2 separate regions of the Homo sapiens genome follow, and region 2 is linked to region 1. Evidence: promoter capture Hi-C in 16 types of primary human blood cells and fetal thymus (Javierre and others, 2016). All regions are on one chromosome and are shown on one strand. The core of a region is centred on a gene start or on the middle of the fragment in contact, and the rest is flanking DNA. Distances in the headings are between cores, read along the strand shown.

Region 1 (5,300 bases), core at 1,708-4,207:
AGAGTCAGTAATATCTAATATGGGAACACCAGGAACTTACATGTATACCCACATGCCCCTCAGAACAACCTACTCAAGTACCTAGAACAGAGTTTTTGTTCTAGTTTCAAGAGGAAGCCGCCAAAATTCCACAAGTCTGTCTTTTTATGATTTTGGCTTTCTTGATAAGCACCTTGAGGTAAAATACAAAATTATTCCTCTTTGTATAAGGCAGCCAATCCCTTGTGGTACCTTGTAGATAATATTCAAATCTTTGCTGAGTTCATTAAAATCCTGTCATTTGTTAGATAAATGGTTTTAATTATTAGCTTATATATAGATGACAAAAAAAAAATCTCTAAATCTTGACCAAGTTCTCCAAACTTCAGTCCTGAATTTCTACCTACTACTAGCTATATCCACCTGGTTGTTTTACAGGTACCTTAGAGTTAATAACCCCGAACTGAACTCTATCTCCCCATTGACACTGACTGTGAAATCACTCTAAAACCCTGTCTCTTTTCTCCATGTTCAATATTACCTTAGTTTGGGCAAAAGTGATTTCTTGCTTGGATGCCTGCACTGGTCTTCTAACCCCTGGTCTCTATTCTTCCAGAGTCTTTTCCTGCCATCTCTTATACCCTATGCTGCAATTACACTGACTTTACATAGAAGGCTCAATCCCCCCAGTTTTCAAGGCCCCCAGATTTCAAGCTTGTTTGCCTGGCATTCCATCCCCCAGTATTACTGGTGAGGCAAACTCTTGCCATTGCTGCAAGAACCACTACTGAAGGTAAAACTGACTATGTAACTCCCTCTTCTATGCCATCACTGTACTTTATGTACATCAGCCTACCCAGCTCTCATTTCTCCACTCACCAACATGTATCATAGAGTTTTACAGTTTTCAGGTTAACATTATTGAAGAAACACAATCAAATTACAACTGATTACCGCCGTCCCCTTAAAGAATTAAAAAACCATTCTCTTTGGTCCAAACAACAACCAACAACTGGCTGCACGTGTCCTTTCCAACCTCATTTCCCACTACCTCCCTTAATATATACCATTCTTACTAGCTAACTGTACCAGCCTGTTCAACAGAAATCACTTCTGTCTTTCTTGCTTACACTGTCCTCCCCACCTGAAATGTCTTCTGTCCATATTCCCCACTTAAAATATCATCTAGGCCTAGCACAAATGTCATTTGCTCAGCAATCTTCTCCGTCCTTCTTAGTTTGGGAAGTAATCTCTTCTTATGAGCTCCTTCCTACAGGACCACAGTAAGAAAAATCTGTTACTGAGTATTCCTTTTCCTCACTAGACTGTAAGCTCCTCGAAGGCAGGATCAATATTAAAATTATCTTAGTTTTTGTCACTGCAGCATGTTATACATAATATATAGTTGACAAGTACTTAAAAAATGAATTGTTGGGCTTAGCAAATCAAACACACAATGGACCTCATTATAATGAATAAGGTATAAGAACAGTACTGGTTACATGGATATGAGTCCGAAGCGTCACAGTGTGACAGCCTCTTAAAGCCTGTTTCTTCCTTTGATTCATAAGATCAATGTCAACAAAGCCACAGGACTCATTTTTTTTTGGCTTCTAAGGCAATTTATAAAAGCTCTTTCAGTCATGCTTGCATTACCTTCAACAACTACCTGTCGTACACTCATATGCAGAATATTGTGGGGGTGGGCCGGGCACAGTTGCTCACTGTAATCGCTGCACTTTGGGAGGTTCAGGTGGGCAGATCACTTGAGGCCAGGAGTTCCAGGGCAGCCTGGCCAACATGGCGAAACCCTCTCTCTACTAAAAATACAAAAATTAGCGGGCGTGGTGGCCCGCGCTTATAATACTTGCTACTCAGGAGGCCGAGGCACCAGAATTGCTTGAACCAGGGAGGCGGAGGTTGCAATGAGCCTAGATTGAGCCACTGCACTCCAGCCTGGGTGACAGAGTGAGATTCTGCATCAAAAAAAAAAAAAAAAAAAAAAAAAAGAATATTGTGGAGGCTACAAACTTTCATAAAATACTATCTCTACTCTTCTAAGGCAGAAAGGGTTTTTTGATTTTATTAAGTGCCACCCTACCTAAAGTTATTTGAAAACCTGACAATACAGTAATAATGATTACAGCTACATACATTGAGCCATTATGTGCCGGGCATTGTTGTCTGTAGTTTTAACATATTGAGGCATTTAATCCTCCCAATAACCACGTGAGATGAACTAAATATTGTCCCCCTTTACAGATGATGGCAACTGAGGCAAAGATTAAGAAACTTACAAAGGTTTCATAATGTAAGAAGTGGATTTTGAAGCCAGGGAGTGGTTTGGTTTCCAGCTACACTGAGAAAAGAGACCAAGTCTTAGCGTATTTTTATCTCATAAAGAATCTAACATCTGTTTTCATGTAAAGTTCCGAAAAGACTGCACTATGCTTCATGCACTATGCTTCAGGAGTGAGGAGTGGGTAGAAAAAGCGGAATAGTTTTAGGTTTTAGTCACTCCAAAACATGATTCTGTACGAAAGAGTAGGTACTGCAAAGGTAGTGGCATACACATCCACCCCTGGACCATTTTCCAGCCGCCCGAACACCTTCCAGATCCTCGACACGGAGACCGGCTCCAGGGCCTTTATCTACCTGCAGGTAAACTGTCCAGGAATCGGGGGACGCAACCCAATCTGCAGTGGTAACGGGACCTCCCAGGTACCCTGGGGATCCCCCACAGGCGCGTGCTCTACCCAAAGCCGATATCCGCCAGGCGGGCGAGTCCGAACGCGACTGACAATTCCTTCTCCCCGACCCTCGAGAAACTCACGCCCCGCCCCTCAGCCGACAAAGCGCGGTGCCCCTCATACTTAGAATCTGCAGAGAACACAGCTCTCCTAAAGTTCAACTCGCTGCCGCCACAACGAACCACGCGGATGTTCTCCTCCTCCACCATCTTTGCGCAGTAGCGGAATGGCCAATCTCTGGTCCCGCCCTGAACTTCCTTCGTTGAGCCGGGTAATAAGGCTGTTCCCAGCCCACAGAACCCACCCCCGGGCCCTTCTAGGCCTGAGACTCGGTGGTAGGACTCCGCTTCCGTGCAGGCACCTTTTGTGTGGGCAATGTCAAACTAAGACACTTGTAAGAAAAGGTGAAAGCAAAACAGAGATTTAGAGACAATCAGTTTTTATTATATACCTATACACAATTATTTAATACAGACATATTTCTCTCAGGCCTTGTCAACCTGACTCTATGGCTTTTTCCGCCAGAAGGGAAAGGTGGCGTATAGTGTACCACGTGACCTCCAGTCGTCCCACCGGAGGCGTCGCTTTCTAGTGTCTGTGGTGTCGGCGCTGCAGGATGACGCGAGCCTCTCGCGTCCCTGGTTTTCTCGGTCGCAGCGTTGAGTTATTGGGTGGAAAGGTAGCTTTCTCTTCCTTGTACAGCTTTTTGTTCCTCTCATTAGCCGTTCTTCTGTTCTTGTGAACATCGCTTAGGTTACTACAGAATCTCCACAGTCCTAGGGCCTAGCTTTCTTCCTTTGGAAATCTGGCTCCTACTCCGGGATTCTGGTGCATCTTCCGCAGCGTTCAGTGTAGCTGCTCGGGCTAATCTGACATTCGGCCAGTCCCGCCAGGTTTCAGGGCGCTGGTCTCTGGTTTCCTGAGTTTTACCTTTTCCCATTAGTGAATAGAATCTGTGGGTTAGGAACCCCTAAAATCTCAACATGTTTATTTTTGCCAGTTTATCTCCAGTTTTCCTTTGTAAACTTACACGTATCATATTCTTGGACCCTGTATATTATGTTGCCTATTTTGATTTCGCTTCTTGATTTGTGGATTTACCACAAAATTACCAAGGTCTCAAATATAGTCACATGTCACATAAGGATCTTTCAATCAATGCATATAACATGGTGATTCCGTAAGATTATAATACTGTGTTTTTACTGTACCTTTTATGTGTTTAAATACACAAATACTATTCTGTTACAATTGCCTGCAATATTGAGTACAGTAACATGTTGTTCAGATTTGTAGCCTAGGAGCAATCAGCTATAACGTACAGCCTAGGTGTGTAGTAGGCTGTACCATCTAGGTTTGTGTAGGTACACTCTGTGATATTCACACAATGATGAAATCACCTAAAATGCATTTCTTAGAACATATCCCCATCATTAAGCCACACATGATTATACCTATAAGTTTATTTATGGTGGAGAAATACAATATTCACAAAGGTCAAGACATATCCTGGGACAGCACCACTGTAAAAATCAGGGATAAATTTACTTTTTACTGAGGAGTCTAGCTTATTAAAGTGCTCAAAACTTTATTATTTGGGGAGCCAGAACTAGAAAGGGAGATATTTAATAATTTTGGTTTATCTCAAGCTGTAACCAGCTTTCTCTTTCATGACTGTGATACCCTTTGTCACAGTGGATGGAGTGTAAAATATCACTTTTGATTCTGCAGCCTTAACCTCTTTTTGTTTAGTCTCTTGATGTATGCACAATAAATCTTTTAAAGACTTTGTTGGGTACTTTGTAACCTGATACAGGCTTTTCCTTAGGGCCTGAGCCAAGAAACAAAATAAATATTTTCACTCAAATTAGTGTGACTTTAGTTGTATGTTACTGTATGGTAACTTTAGATTTTTCAGAAAAGAATCAGAAATCCTGATATGGACAAAAACTAGCTGGATTGATAAATGTATAGGAGGATTATTTTACACAGAGTTTTAATTTACTGAAGTGCCCAGAAAGATAAGTCATTTGTATTTTGATTTCTTTTTACATAATTTTTAAGGAACCAATCCCACCTACAGCTGTTTAATTAATAGTGCGTTGTCTTTATCATGTAACAAGAAGGCTGAGGTAGGCAGAATAGGGCTAGTGCAGTGGATCATTCATGCCACCAGGGACCTGTGCTTTCTCTACTTTGTTCTTTGTGTTATTGTCCTTAACCATATTGGTTTTGTCCTTATGCTCACAGTTCATGTTCCTTTCAGTTAGAAGAAATAAGGGAATAGCAAGAAAGAGCATAGCCTATATACAGAAGGAAAAGGATTTTCCAGAAACACTTATTTGGCATCTTCCATCCAGGAAATATTTACTAAGTGCCTAGTATATGCCAGACATTCTTTCAGGCTCTGGGAATACTGGAGTGAGAAAAATAGTTAACAAAATCTGTATGTTACTGGACCTTACCTTATCATGGGAAGAAACAAAAACTTATTATACTTTTGATGTATTTATGTGCCAAGGGGAAACTCAAAGTAGAAAAGAAAGTGATTATAAGGGTTTGATCACCTTT
Region 2 (5,300 bases), core at 1,195-3,694, 6.3 Mb after region 1:
CACTAAAATCAAACCAAAAGTCTAAACAAAAGCATATTCTTAACAGATATTCAGAATACCATATTAAACGCAAAGTTTTTGGTAACATTCACTACATTCACTCCCCCTCCCTAAAAGAAAAAAAAATTATAGCAAAATAAAGTAAGAATTGGCTTAAGAAAAGTTCTGATGTATCTGGATACATACAGACACAGTAGAAGGCGCAAGCCTCTAATCCCAGGATTTTGGGAGGCCGAGGCAGGTGGATCGCTCGAGCTCAGTTCGAGACCAGTCTGGACAAAATGGCGAAACCTTGTCTCTACCAAAAATACAATAAGTAGCTGGGAGTGGCGGCACACTGTGGTCCCAGCCCCTGGGAGGCTGAGGTGGGAGGATTGCTTGAGCCCGGAGGGGGAGGTTGCAGTGAGCTGAGACTGCACGACTGCACTCCAGCCCAGGTGACACGGCTGTGTCAAAAAAGAGGAAGGGAGGGAGGGAGAGAGGGAAGAAGGAAGGAAAAGAAAAAAGAAAGCACCAGACAGGAAGGAGGGCACAATGGGCTCTTAATCAGGACTGTCACCAACCACCCCTCAGGCTAAATTTCACTTAAAGCAAACTTAAGGAAAAGATGCTGCATGTCCTCAATTCCATTTCATATTCTGTGCTCCCAAAAGATACGTACTCAGCTAGCAGTTTGTTGAAGTCAACCCTTAGTTTTACTACACCAGTGGGCACCTGGAATATCTGCAAAATGTGGACTTAAACATTAATACTGGCTAATGTCAGATTTCTGGCAAGGCAATATACAGGGATTGGTTTACTCACATTTGTAACCCCAATAAATATGCACTCCAAAATGTTTTTGTTGAATAGAAAAATTTGGAACTGGAAATGAAGAGTTTTTGATCTCTAAAATACATTAAAAATAAATACCAAGACGACATCTATATATAAATTTTAATGCAGAGTATCTGCATTATTGACATTATGCATTTAGTTTTTTTATGACAGACTAAAGTAGTTCAAGTTACTCTATTCTCAAAAAGAACTTATTTTACACCAAACATGGCAAGCATTACATACCCTTCAAATCTAAAGACTCTTTCCACACCATATATATTACATTTGCTCTCTTTTCCAAGCTCAGAAAGTTATAACCTAACTTTTCAGGTAAGTCTCTATGACAGTAAGACGGTTTATTTTCCGTTCTAAAATTTTCGACGATTCTCACAAGTCGCAAAACTCAGCAGGAAAAAAAGAAATCCGCGTGCTGTTAAAGTGGTAGATTTTTTTCAAAGACGACATATTTCAACGAGGCTCCGCAATGAATAATGGGAATGAATCTTTAAAAAAATTCAGATCGTGACTTACTAGAGAAAAATACCTCCTACAATACTTAAGAGTCACTTTCCCCAAATAAAGGCGGGAAATATCGTGCGAACTCCTAGCTTGCTGTTAAGGTCAATATCTCAATGATTACCAACCACACGGTTGATTAAATGTTGCACGATTCAAGCTTCCATTAATAACAAGATTCCTTTGGCAAAGCCCGGGAGAGAGGAGTCAAAACAGGAACTGGAAGCACCGGTGATCAAGAAGCAGTGGACTGCACCCACACACTTCAGGGCACCGCCCACCCACGTGTACCGCGGTCAGTTCCTCCCAGGGATGCTTCTGGGGACCAGCAACCAGCTGGGAATCCAGCAACCAGCATCGCGTCTCGGGTATCAGAAGGAGGTTAAGGTATGGGCCAGTCTAACGTGGCTGGCGTGTGGGGGCACAAACACAGCTCAGTCACCGCCAGACGGCCTTTTCTTCACCCTCCCAGGGCCCTCAGCTTCCCGGCGCCACCTTTGTAGCAGTATGGAGGCGACGCGTCGAGTAGGGGACCGACTATGAACTTGGGGGCACCCAAGGATTCCCTCTCCGCGACTGAAACCAGCAGACGAGAGCCTGACGACTGCCTTTCAGTCTTGCCCGCCTCCAGGCCCAGAGCATGGATGGCAGTGCCAGCAAGGAAAAGCAATATTTCACTCACCTAACGCGGGCCCCTGAGGTTCCACTGCAAAGGCTGCCATTGCGTCGGCAACTACACTTAAAACCAGTACCTTCCCAATTAATTTTCAAAAATGGCGGAAACGCTCCCCACGGGTAACGGCGTGCTACCTTATGGGGTTGCGTAACTTCCGGACCTGCGCTATGCTTAAGTTGTAGGCGCCGGAGCCATTTTGGAATAGGGCAAAGTCTTTGCGCTGAGAATTTCCGAGGAAAGGGTTTTTGCACCGGGAAGGTGGCGAACCAGCGTATGGTTCTGTGAATGCTTTTCATCCGGGAATGCTTCCTGATTTGTGGGTACTTAAGTTACATAGAAGCACAGATTATTTTACTCACGGTTTCATAATTAGCGTGAGTTGACCCAGTGCTCTATCATCGGTCAGCTTTTCTGAGTAGCACCTGGAAAAGTCAGCTTGATGAAAACAGTTGGTGCCTCTTTGCAATGTCGATTTCTGGACTTAGTACATGACGCTTTTTCCTCAAAGCATGTTTTCTACTATCCGTATGCCATTTCTTTTAAATTTTGTGTTATGTAGACAATTTTACATTAAAGCGTAACTCATACGCCGTTTTGTTGCATATTAAAACATACAAAAATATAGCTAACGAACGCATAAAGTACACATGTAAATAATGGAAGATAATTATACGCACCCACGAACCCTCCACACCGCGGAATCTTGCGTGCTTCTGCATGTGCCATCCCTGCCGTCCACGTCCCCTCACTTTGCTGCTTTTCTTTAGGGCATAGTCATACGTAAATCACATACACATATTCTGCATATGTGTGTGTAAAAATATATTGTTTAGTTTTGCTCAAATACTAACTTTATAAAATAATGTGCTACATATGTATAACTGGGGACGTTCTCTGCTCCATACCATGAGGATTATTTCCAAAATATCCACCCATGCTCAGCTATTTCTTCTAGGACTTCCTAAAATCTCAAATGGAGGAAGAATTTTGTCTTTGGAATGAGGCAGTAACAATTCCAGAATTAAATGGTAGGTTCACAGAAATCAAATTTTAAAACCACTCACAGATCGAATTGACTTTTTGAAAATGGGTGTGTGAATTGAATTGTGTCCCTCAAAAATTTATGTTCAAGTCCTAACCCTCATACTTATGAATATGACCTTATTTGGAAATCGGGTCTTTGCAGATGTAATAAAGTTCAGATAAAGTCACATTGGAGTACCACAAGCTCGGTTAACTAAACCAGCACAAATGTATCTCTTACAGTTCTGGAGGCCAAAAATCCAAAATGAGTATTGTAGGGCTAAAATCAAAGTACCAGAAGGACTATTTTCTTCTGGAGGCTCCAGGGGAGAATCTATTACCTTGCTTTTTCAAGCTTCTAGAAGCCACTTATATTTCTTAGCTTGTGCCACCTTCCTGCTTTTTCAAAGCCAACGATGTAGCATCTTTGGTCTGTCTGACACTGCTTTGTTCAGCTTCTGCCATCACATAGCCTTGTGATGACATTTAGGACCCACCCAGGTAATCCAGGATAATCTTACTATTTCAATATTCAGTAGAGGTGATTAAGTTAATAATCACATCTTCAAAATACCTTTTGCCATATAAGGTAACATTCACAGATTCTAAAGCTTAGTGTATGGATATCTTTGGGGAGTAGTCAGCCCACAACACAGGGCAATCCACTTTTTAGAATTAAGCTACCAAGAAAGGTATATCAATGTATAAATTTCTACACACATTGAGGCTAGATGTGGTGGCTCACACCTGCAATCCCAGCACCTTGGGAGGCTGAGGGGTTGATCACTTGAGTCCAGGAGTTTGAGATAGTGAGACCCCACTTCTCTACAAAATAAAAAAGAAATTTCTATACAAATTATGATCTAGCCAAACAAAAGAACACTATACAACAACTAAAATGAATTAGATGGATTTGATATGAGTGTAAATATTAACCTAGAAAGACCTCTGTGATAGATATAATGAAAAAAAGTAATTTGAAAACATGCATGCATATACGGCACCATTTTTATTTAATAACGGGTTTATTTAGGAACAGATGCAGAGAAAGAGAAAAGAGTGATACTTCTTTAAATAAAAGAAGATGTTGAAAAAGATTTGCACCAGCCGGGCATGGTGGCTCATGCCTGTAATCCCAGCACTTTGGGAGGCCAAGGCGGGCGGATCACGAGGTCAGGAGTTCCAGACCAGCCTGGCCAACATGGTGAAACCCCATCTCTACTAAAAAATACAAAAATTATCCGGGCATGGTGGCACATGCCTGTAATCCCAGCTACTTGGGAGGCTGAGGCAGGAGAATCGCTTGAACCCAGGAGGTGGAGGTTGCAGTGAGCCAAGACCATGCCACTGCACTCCAGCCTGGCGACAGAGCGAGACTCTGTGTCCAAAAAAAAAAAAGAAAAGAAAAAGAAAAAGATTTGCACCAAACTATTAACAGTAAAGTAGAAAAGGGTTTGTAAATTGGAGGATTTAAGAATGGCCTTTACACATGTATACATATGTAACAAACCTGCACGTTGTGCACATGTACCCTAGAACTTAAAGTATAATAATAATAATAATAAAAAGAATGGCCTTTAACTTATTTTATACAATTTTGTGGTTGATGACAGGTGTTATTGCTATTTTATTTATTTATTTATTTATTTTGAGATGTAGTCTCGCTCTGTCACCAGGCTGGAGTGCAGTGACACGATCTCAGCTCTGGCACTCCACTGCAACCTCCACTGATTCCCCTGCCTCAGTCTCCCGAGTAGCTGGGAGTACAGGCGCATGCCACCACACCCAACTCATTTTTTTTTTTGAATTTTAGTACAGACAGGGTTTTACCATGTTGGCCAGGATGGTCTCGATCTCCTGACCTCATGATCCACCTGCCTCAGCCTCCCAAAGAGCTGGGATTACAGGTGTGAGCCACCGCGCCCAGCCCTATTTTCTTTACTTTTTAAATTAAAAACTTTTTTCCATTAAGACATTTATTTTCTTTTCTTTACCTGCATTTCAATCTTTTACCCTTTCAACAGGCTCTTTCCTTACCAAGCTATAAAGAAGCCCAGAATTGAAACCCTCCCTAGGCCTTGCTCCTCCACCTACCTACCATGTGCTAATTTCTCTCTCATTTCATTTTTTCAAAATCTCAAAAGAAGTGTCTATAGATTTTAGTAAATTATCTGTTTCCCTATCTTTACTATTTTGATTTTTAATTAATTGCAGATTGGCTCCTGTGTAATGCTCTTCCGAAATAAAACTACTGACCCCAACTATT

The links. The method cuts DNA at HindIII sites, captures the fragments that hold promoters and counts their contacts. A CHiCAGO score of 5 or more calls a contact.
Region 2: a contact is called between a fragment that was not itself captured here and the fragment with the promoter of WDR75 in region 1, in 1 of 17 cell types (total B cells). The highest score is 5.9, in total B cells.

The regions. Positions count from the first base shown.
Region 1 is chr2:189,439,131-189,444,430 of GRCh38, reverse strand. WDR75 (WD repeat domain 75) reads right to left here and starts at 2,957. Exons shown (of 21, transcript NM_032168.3): 1 at 2,853-2,957. The coding sequence starts at 2,938. It also overlaps a transcript of COL5A2 not described here. RefSeq lists enhancers at 2,512-2,561, 2,582-2,811, 2,832-2,961, 3,222-3,441, 3,462-3,621 and 1 more. The HindIII fragment of the contact is 5,353 bases long and covers 696-5,300 here.
Region 2 is chr2:183,121,215-183,126,514 of GRCh38, reverse strand. It overlaps NUP35 (nucleoporin 35), which reads right to left and starts at 2,072. Exons shown (of 9, transcript NM_138285.5): 1 at 2,018-2,072. The coding sequence starts at 2,057. LOC124907917 (a long non-coding RNA gene) reads left to right here and starts at 1,558. Exons shown (of 2, transcript XR_007087331.1): 1 at 1,558-1,722; 2 at 1,808-2,598. RefSeq lists an enhancer at 1,254-2,022. The HindIII fragment of the contact is 1,894 bases long and covers 1,498-3,391 here.